Linked DNA regions of Homo sapiens: all the other regions are linked to region 1. Evidence: promoter capture Hi-C in 16 types of primary human blood cells and fetal thymus (Javierre and others, 2016). All regions are on one chromosome and are shown on one strand. The core of a region is centred on a gene start or on the middle of the fragment in contact, and the rest is flanking DNA. Distances in the headings are between cores, read along the strand shown.

Region 1 (2,712 bases), core at 56-2,555:
CTGCTAACAGCTTGACTCCATCTCTACAATTTCCCTCCCCCTCCACTCCTATTCCCCCAACTTTTAGGATGTCTGTACATACTGGATCCCGGCCTGTCGACTTCCCGCACGATGTGAGTCATGCCAGCCTTGTATCCCAGGAAGGCTGTGAGGTGGACCGGCTTGGACGGGTCATCCTTAGGGAAGCTCTTCACCTTCCCACGATGCCTGCTGCTGCGCTTCCGAGGCAGGAAGCCGAGGGACCCATGTCTGGGAGCGGAGAACTTTCTGTGAGACTAGGTGGGAAAAAAATCACCGTCAGCACCCAAACCAAAGCAGTGCCCCCTTCTCTAGTTCCCAGCTGCTTAAGTTCCAAATCTCAGCAATACTGAAGAATCCTGACCAGACACCCAGCAAGCCGAATAAAAAGGTCATTATCTCTTCCAGGCTCGCACGTGTCAAGAATGCTTTTGTATTCGACAAAATTTAAGCTGAATCTTATTTCAAATCCTCTCAACCTGTAAGAAAACGACCCATTTTTTTTATCTAACCACACAAAAATACACTAAGTAGTGGCACTAAAAACTGCTTAACAGGCAGCTTTATATGCCAATTAGCAAGGTTTTGACCGCTAAAGAAAGGGACTCCCGGGACAAACGCTGGGTAGCAGCTAGCAATGTTAAGCTATAGGCTGCCTCCGGTGCCCGGACACTAATTACACTGATACACACAGGCCAAAGAACTCCGCAGAGCCAAATCAGAACGTGACAATCAGCACACAGTTTCTGTCCGCCCGTCAATAAGTTCATCATCTGTGGTTTCTGCGAGCTCCAGAGGCCTTCGGAGTGCACCAGCGGCCCCAGATATTCAGGAGGACTCCACAACACTCCCCTCCCCCAAGCTTCTTTACCTCCCAATGAGAACGGCGCCGAGAACCTCCACCCAAGGTCCTTCTACCCAGACAAGCAGGTTATGGGCCCTAATCCCAACTAATGATAGAATTGGTGAGGTCGAAACTTAGAAATGACTCATGGCTTTAAAAACGCCGGGCCTCCAAGCCTGCTCCCACCCTTACGGCCTCTCTCTGGCCGACCTGCAGGCCCAAAGCCAGTCCTCCAAGCGCTCTTCACAAGCCTCTCGACTTTCCAGAAAATAGGCCAGACTGAAGTCCCCGCTGGGTCGCCCGTGCCCCTAAAGCAAACCCCCGGCGCCGGCCAAGACGGGATGGCGGCGATGCGTCGCGGATTCAGCCGTGCCGACGCCGGTGACAATGAAACGGCCGCCATTACAACACATACCATCACGCCATCAAATCCCGCCGGTAGAGGCCGGTCGGCCTTACGGGTCCGCTATATAAAGCCAAATCTGGCCCCGCCCCTTCCGGCGTGCGAGCGCGCCCCCGCGGCAGACGACAGGTCGGGGGCACGTACCGAGCGCCATTTCCACGCACGCTCTTCCGCTCCTAGCTTTCGTTCAGAAGTTGACGTCAGCTTCGGAGACAGAAATTACACACTCTACGGCGAGGGGTCGGGTTCAAACTTAGTGAAAAGCCGCGGAGAGGTGGGCTAAGGGTGGGTGAGCCACAAATCTACGGCGTCCGGCAGCAGCCAAATTTGATAATAACGAAGAAAAATGGCTGCGTCGCTTCTCCTCCTGTGATATGCAGCTATCTCTGGAATTAGCGAAGAAAGACTGAAACTCTCGTTTCCTGGCTCCCACGCTGGTTTTGCGGCGACACCAATTTACCTTTAATACCTTTAATCTCGGGCATCCCTCCCTCAAGCCCTATCTCTGCCATTTCTCCCATGCTAATGCAGTGGCCCGCGCTTGATTCTGAGGGTCAGGAGCGTCCCAAGCCTGCGGAACGGCCTCACGACCTCTGGTCATGCCGAGTCCAGCTGCTCAGCCTCCCGGAGCCCCACGCCTTCCAGACCTATGCATCAGCGAGGGCTTTCGCTGATCTCTGCCTAGGCTCCAGGGTGACTCGGATCCTGACCGATTCCCTGCTTCCAGGCTGGTCCCTTACAAATCTCTTTTTTGAGACGGAGTCTCGCTCTGTCGCAGTGGCGCGATCTCAGCTCACTGCAAGCTCCGCCTACCGGTTCCCAGTTCAAGCAGTTCTCCTGCCTCAGCCTCCCGAGTAGCTGGGATTACAGGAATGCGCCACCATGCCTGGCTAATTTTTTTTTTTTTTTTTTTTGTATTTTTAGTGGAGACGGTGTTTCACCATGTTGGCCAGGCTGGTCTTGAACTCCTGATCTCGTGATCCGCCCGCCTCGGCCTCCCAAAGTGCTGGGATTACAGGTGTGAGCCACCGCGCCTGGCCCCCTACAAATCTTTCTAAGAATCAAGTATCTCGTTACTTTCCATGGCCGCCTCGTTGTTTCCTCGGAATTAAGCATCAACTTCAGCGGCCACCAAAGACGCTCCCCTAACCGTCTACTTCAGCCTCATGGCTGCGCCAGAGCACACGCTCTCATATCACCTGCTTCCTCTGTCCCACCCTGTCATCTTCTTTAATTCTGGGCCTGGCCTTTGCTCCCACCGTCGTTTGAAAAGCATTCTCTCGGCCAGGCGCGGTGGCTCACGCCTGTAATCCCAACACTTTGGGAGACCGAGGCGGGCGGATCACCTGAGGTCAGGAGTTCGAAACCAGCCTGGGCAACATGGCGAAACCCCGTCTCTATTAAAAATACAAAAATTAGCGGGGCACGATGGTGTGCGTCTGTAATC
Region 2 (2,712 bases), core at 106-2,605, 720 kb after region 1:
CAGGAACCAGCCTTCCCTATGCACCTGCACCCGTGAGTCTCACAACAGCCCCAACAGGCAAGTGTTATTTTCCTCAATTCTACCAATTAAAAACTGACCTTGGGCAACTGCTTAACCTATCTCTGCCTTACTTTCTTCATCTGTATCTACCTCAGAAAGTTACTATGAGGACTGAATAAGCTCATACATATACAATGCTTGGAGCAGAGGCTGGTACTAGAGCTGGCTTCATGGGCATGAAACCTGTGAACACAGAACCCCATGCTTTCATTTTCCACTTAGTCCTGCCTGGCATAGTATGCAGTTTTTTTAATTTGAGATGGAGTCTCCCTTTGTTGCCCAGGCTTGAGTGCAGTGGCGCGATCTCAGCTCACTGCAACCTCCACCTCCCAGGTTGAAGCAGTTCTCCTGCCTCAGCCTCCTGAGTAGCTGGGATTACAGGTGCGCGCCACCATACCCAGCTAATTTTTGTATTTTTAGTAGAGATGAGGTTTTGCCATTTTGGCCAGCCTGGTCTTGAACCTCTGACTTCCATGATCCACCTGCCTCTGCCTCCCAAAGTGCTGGGAGGATTACAGGCATGAACCACTACGCCTGGCCTGGTATGTGGGTTAAAATGTTAGGTTTTATCATTATCTTAGGTGGAGAATAACAAATCCGATTCAATATATTCATTTTAGAAACGAGGAAACTGAAGCTTAGATAGTTTGTGTGACTTGCAAAAAGTCACGCAGCAAACAAGCTGCAGAATGAAGGGTGGAGATGGAGAGATAGAATTCTCATCTTAGAGGTGAAAGTAGGATAATGACCCAGCTGAGCTTGCTGAGTCCTGCGAGCGTCGCACGCCCCCAGAGACAACATAAGGAGAGAAGTGCAGACAGATTCCTTTGAAGGAGCTTAGAGAAAGAGATGGTAGGGAAAAGAGCATGAACAGTTGTAGAGGTAGGAGGAAAGCTGGCTATTTGGGGAAGCAAAGAAAAGATTCTCAGAGTAAAACGTATTGGTGAAGCCATGGAAACAAGGACTGAGAAAGTCTCTTGGATCTTGGCCACAAAAAGGTTATAGATGAGCTTAGAGAAATGAATTTCAGTAGAGTTAGGGCTAGAAGCCAGGTTCAGAGAGAGAAAACGAGAGAGCATTCCTGGTGGTGGAGATGGCCGCAGGCCATTATTTAAAAAGCTAGGATAAGAAAATAGAGAAGAAAGGGAAGGAAGCTATTTGAAGGGAGTGGGAGAAAAGCCAGATCTCAGTTGGGACGTGGAGGAAGGACCACCAGAGGCAGTAATTTAGCCGGAAAGAGGTGTATTTCTTTCCTTGAGTTTATAGGGGGTAAAGAGGATGGGGCTGAGATACTAAAGACTACGAGGACAACTGTTCATTGAGGGCTGGTCATCTCCCCAGCTGCACTGTGGGGTTCCCAAGTCAGACATCCCAGAGGCAATATAGCAGCGTGGACAAGAGCTTACTCGTTGGAGTCAGACCGCCTAGGTTCAACGATGGGTTAGTTAGCCCTTCAGTGCCTCCATTTTCCTATCTAGAAAATGTGGATAACAATGGTTGTTGTGAAGATTAACAGCCATAATCCACGTAAAGCCCTCAGTACAGTGTATGACACACAGCAAGTGTCCACCAAAGGGTAGTTATTATTAACCATAATCCTGGTTCTCTTGTGAGCTGCCTCCTGTGTGTCTAGCATTGGCCAGCACACATGAGGGGGTCCAGTGTTTGCTGCTTAACTAAGTAGCTTCTCAGGAAGTGTGGTCATAAAAAATGATAGGTGATTTAGAAGGTGAGACAGACACAAGGGATGTGTTGCACAGTAAATGCTCCCAGACATGCAATAAATGCTTATAAGCATGCCCTCTGTAATCAGCCCTCTTTAGAGAGTTTCCCTGCCTCATTGCTCTTGGTCTTTGGCAATGGCTACACCCACTGCCCAAGCAAGCAGTATCAGCTGTCAGCTGTCCCCTTGTCTTTTGGATCAGATTCCTTTACAGGGATCTTCCCATTGTTATAAGCTTCAAGAATTGGAGAATGCTTAATGAACACTTCCAAATTCTTCATAGCTATGAGGGGCCAGTGCAAAGGGCGGAAGGAGTTCTTCTGTGTCACAGAAATTAGAGCTGGAGCAGATCCAGCTTGCTATCCCCCCTTCCCCCAGCTTGTGGGTTATTGCAGAATTGTTCACAAAAATTCCCATTGCCTTGGAATTTGTCCAAGCCGAGGGCAGGGATCACAACACAACCTCTCAAGGGAAAAAAGGAAGGCCTGTTGCTTGAGATGGCTCAGAGCACTTTTGGTAGCCAGCCAAGGCAGCTATCACTCATGAAATCTGCCTTCCCCTCCAGCAAAAAGCCAACTGTATAGAACACCACATATAGAGCGCTAAGAATAGCACAGCGCTCCAAGAACATAGTGCACTTGGCCTGCATACAAGTGTGCAGGGCTTAACGAGTCTTTTTACTCTGAAAGCTGGGTGGGTTGGAACAAACAAACAGAAAAATATTTTCCCCAAGTAGCATGCAGAGAGGAAATGAGAGCAAGCACAAGAGAGCACCCTGGCATAGCATTCTCTGACCTGGGCTGCCTTTTCAGGGTATGAGTTGATTCCGCAGGCACCAAGGCATGCCTGTAAGCCCTACAGGGCAGACGCCCTCACCCCAATCATTGGCTTAACATTCACACCAGGCTGAGTAAGCCCCAAAAGTCCTG
Region 3 (2,712 bases), core at 143-2,642, 620 kb before region 1:
TTAACACGTATTCCACGGGACTGTTGAAGATCACTCAAGAAAACACAGCTGAGGCTATGAGTACTTTCCTAGCCCACCGTAAGTGCCTGATAAATGGTAGTGATTATCTTTTCATGTCTTGTGTCCCTTATACCTGCTAACGCAATCTAGCTAATACCTACAGCTTTGAAGGTTTATGAAGCTGAGACACTGCCCCACCCACAGAAATCCAGAAATATCAGTATCAAGATGCCAAGGAGAAGGGTCCCCTACCTCTGGAAAATCTCTTGCAGCGTATCCCGGGTGAAGGCATTGCTGTCCTGGAAGACGTTATTGAGGGCGTGGAGGGCACAAAGCTCCCTGCGCTGTTTCTCATGGTAGATTTGTGGGGGTGCTGCCTGGGGCAGCTCCAATGATTCAGATTTGGCCTTGTCTCCTTTCCATGGCACACAACTCATGTTTTTTGTTTTAGGTTCCAGAGATGGCTATAAACACCCCACTCTTCCCTCTAGAGGAAGAATGTAAGCTTCTCAGTCTTTTCCGGATTCCTGAGGTCCACCTTATTCTCTGGTGTCCATGATTTATGCTTTGTCACTGGGAGAAAAGATTGGAATCAAAAGGAAAAAAATAAAACCCACCTCTTCTCTCTTCTCAATAGAAAAATAACTTTTGGATTACTTTTATTTTGCTACCACTGTCAAAGTGCAGAATTTAAAAAAACACATAAAATGTAAGACCTTGTTTCCGTTTCCCCACCCTTCCCTCCCACCCCCCTCCAAAATCCCCACGATTTTCTTGCTGTTTCCCTCTGCAAATGCCAGGCCTCAAAGCAGGAGGACCGAACACAATCGGTCACATCGCTCCTTTTCTTCCATTTCTTTTGAACCACGACGCCAATGACTCGGGAGACAAGGCCTGGGTGACGGATAAATTTAGCGCACGAGTCGAGTAGCTAGCGCGGGCCGGCAGGCGTGGGACCGCGAGCCGCGCGGGGGCCTCGGGGGCAGCCCTCCATCCCCTCGGGTACGGTGGGGCCCGCAGGGCGCGGCTCCCTCGGAAGGCGCGGATTCTAGCCCTCTGGCCGCGGCCCTGCGGAGGAGGAGACAACTCCGGTCAGCGGCGAGCGGGCGCGGGAAGTGAGCGGCGGGGCCGGCCCCTGCCCGAGGGAAGGTTCCGCGCGGCGAAGGGCTGGCCCGCGAGGGGTGGGGCCGGACAGTCAGCCTCGCGCTCCCGGGCCCGCGCCCACCCGGCTCGCAGCCCCTACACAAACCTCCCCGCCCGTCACGTGAGCGCAGGCCCAGACGCCCTCCCGCCGCGCCCCCGGCCGCAGACCCCAGGGCCGCCGGGACTGCTCGCCGCTGGCGGTCCCCTCACCGCAGCCGGCCGCCACCTGGAGTGCGCGCCGCCAACTGGGCCGTGCGGGCGGGCGCGCGCACCTGAGCCCGACGTCAGCGGCCCCCGCCCGGCGCGTGCTCCGGAAACGCCCTCCCGCGCCGTCCTCACTCCTCCCAGCCGTGGCGTCACGCCTGACGTAAGTCTGACGTCATCGGCACCGGCCTGGGAGCCGCAGACGCCGGGCGTGTAGGGGCGCAGTTCAACGGTTGGGGTGTTGCAAAGGCCGTGGGTGTGGGGCTGCGGGCTGCGCACCTCGGCGGCGGCCGGCAGGGTTGGGGTCCAGCCGCTCCGCTCGGCGCGGCCCCTGGCGGGGCGGCCTGAGGGAGTCCTACCTGGACGCCAGCCTGCCCTTCTCCCGGGCGTGGGCGTTGTTTCGGGGCGGCAGCCAGGCCAGCGGCTGCAGTCCGCGGCTTTCAGCACCCCTCCCTTCTCTGTGCCGGGCTTTTCGGCCGAACGTTCTCGCTCCTTCTGCGTTGACTGTTTTATGTGTGGTTAACGCGCGGCTCACCAGGGGGGATTTTGAAGCACCTGATTCGGTCGGGCGCAAATTGCCTTGGTTAGTGGGCCCGACCGTGCCGCACTGTCCAGGGAGCGTCAAGGGTAGGTGTCTCGCTGGGAGTCACATTTCAAGTGGAAAGGAGAATCCTGTTGCAGTTCCTTGGTGTCGCATTTCGGTTCACTACACACAAGCCACTGCCTTCTTGCCTGGGGGCTCCCCGCTCTTCTCACGGTGGCTTTCCTCTCTGCAGAGACCTCTGCGCGAGGTATACCTAAGCGCATTGTGTGCGTCTTCGGGAAAAGGCGAAAACTACTCGCAGTCCCACGTGGATTTCATTTTTTCCCCTTTACCTACTCTTAGGGTGCGTGGTAGGCATCATTATCCACCTTAGCTGCCCTTCTTTTGGGTTTTCTGTAAAACTGGAAAAACGAGAAGAAACTGTTGCACTTCAAATTTAGTTGTTTTGTTTTGTTTTTTGGAGACGGAGTTTCGCTCTTGTTGCCCAGACTGGAGTGCAATGGCATGATCTCCGCTCACCGCAACGTCCGCCTCCCGGGTTCAAGCAATTCTCCTGCCTCAGCCTCCCGAGTAGCTGGGATTGCAGGCATGCGCCACCACGCCCGGCTAATTTTGTGTGTTTAGTAGAGGGGTTTCTTCATGTTGGTCAGGCTGGTCTCGAACTCCCGACCTCAGGTGATCCACCCGCCTTGGCCTCCCAAGGTGTTGGGATTACAGAAGTGAGCCACCGTGCCCGGCCTTTTTTTTTTTTTTTTTTTTTAAGATGGAGTTTAACTTTTGTCGCCCAGGCTGAATTGCAACGGGGCGATCTCGGCTTACTG

The links. Contacts are between HindIII fragments. The CHiCAGO score rates a contact against its expected background, and 5 or more counts as called.
Region 2: a contact is called between a fragment that was not itself captured here and the fragment with the promoter of RPL3 in region 1, in 5 of 17 cell types (naive B cells, total B cells, M2 macrophages and 2 more). The highest score is 8.5, in naive B cells.
Region 3: a contact is called between the fragment with the promoter of JOSD1 here and the fragment with the promoter of RPL3 in region 1, in 11 of 17 cell types (naive CD8 T cells, fetal thymus, neutrophils and 8 more). The highest score is 9.4, in naive CD8 T cells.

Annotation. Positions count from the first base shown.
Region 1 is chr22:39,318,318-39,321,029 of GRCh38, forward strand. RPL3 (ribosomal protein L3) reads right to left here and starts at 1,306. Exons shown (of 10, transcript NM_000967.4): 1 at 1,278-1,306; 2 at 83-275. The coding sequence starts at 1,280. SNORD43 (small nucleolar RNA, C/D box 43) reads right to left here and starts at 796; the gene lies at 735-796. RefSeq lists enhancers at 295-1,184, 1,051-1,100, 1,185-2,074, 1,491-1,910, 2,075-2,712. The HindIII fragment of the contact is 13,460 bases long and covers 879-2,712 here.
Region 2 is chr22:40,038,809-40,041,520 of GRCh38, forward strand. It overlaps FAM83F (family with sequence similarity 83 member F), which reads left to right. Exons shown (of 5, transcript NM_138435.4): 5 at 1-2,712. Among named protein-coding and RNA genes, the nearest start is that of TNRC6B-DT, 4.4 kb to the right of the region's middle. The HindIII fragment of the contact is 1,321 bases long and covers 696-2,016 here.
Region 3 is chr22:38,699,551-38,702,262 of GRCh38, forward strand. It overlaps JOSD1 (Josephin domain containing 1), which reads right to left and starts at 1,393. Exons shown (of 5, transcript NM_001360236.2): 1 at 1,250-1,393; 2 at 253-1,068. The coding sequence starts at 437. RefSeq lists a silencer at 900-1,859. The HindIII fragment of the contact is 4,284 bases long and covers 504-2,712 here.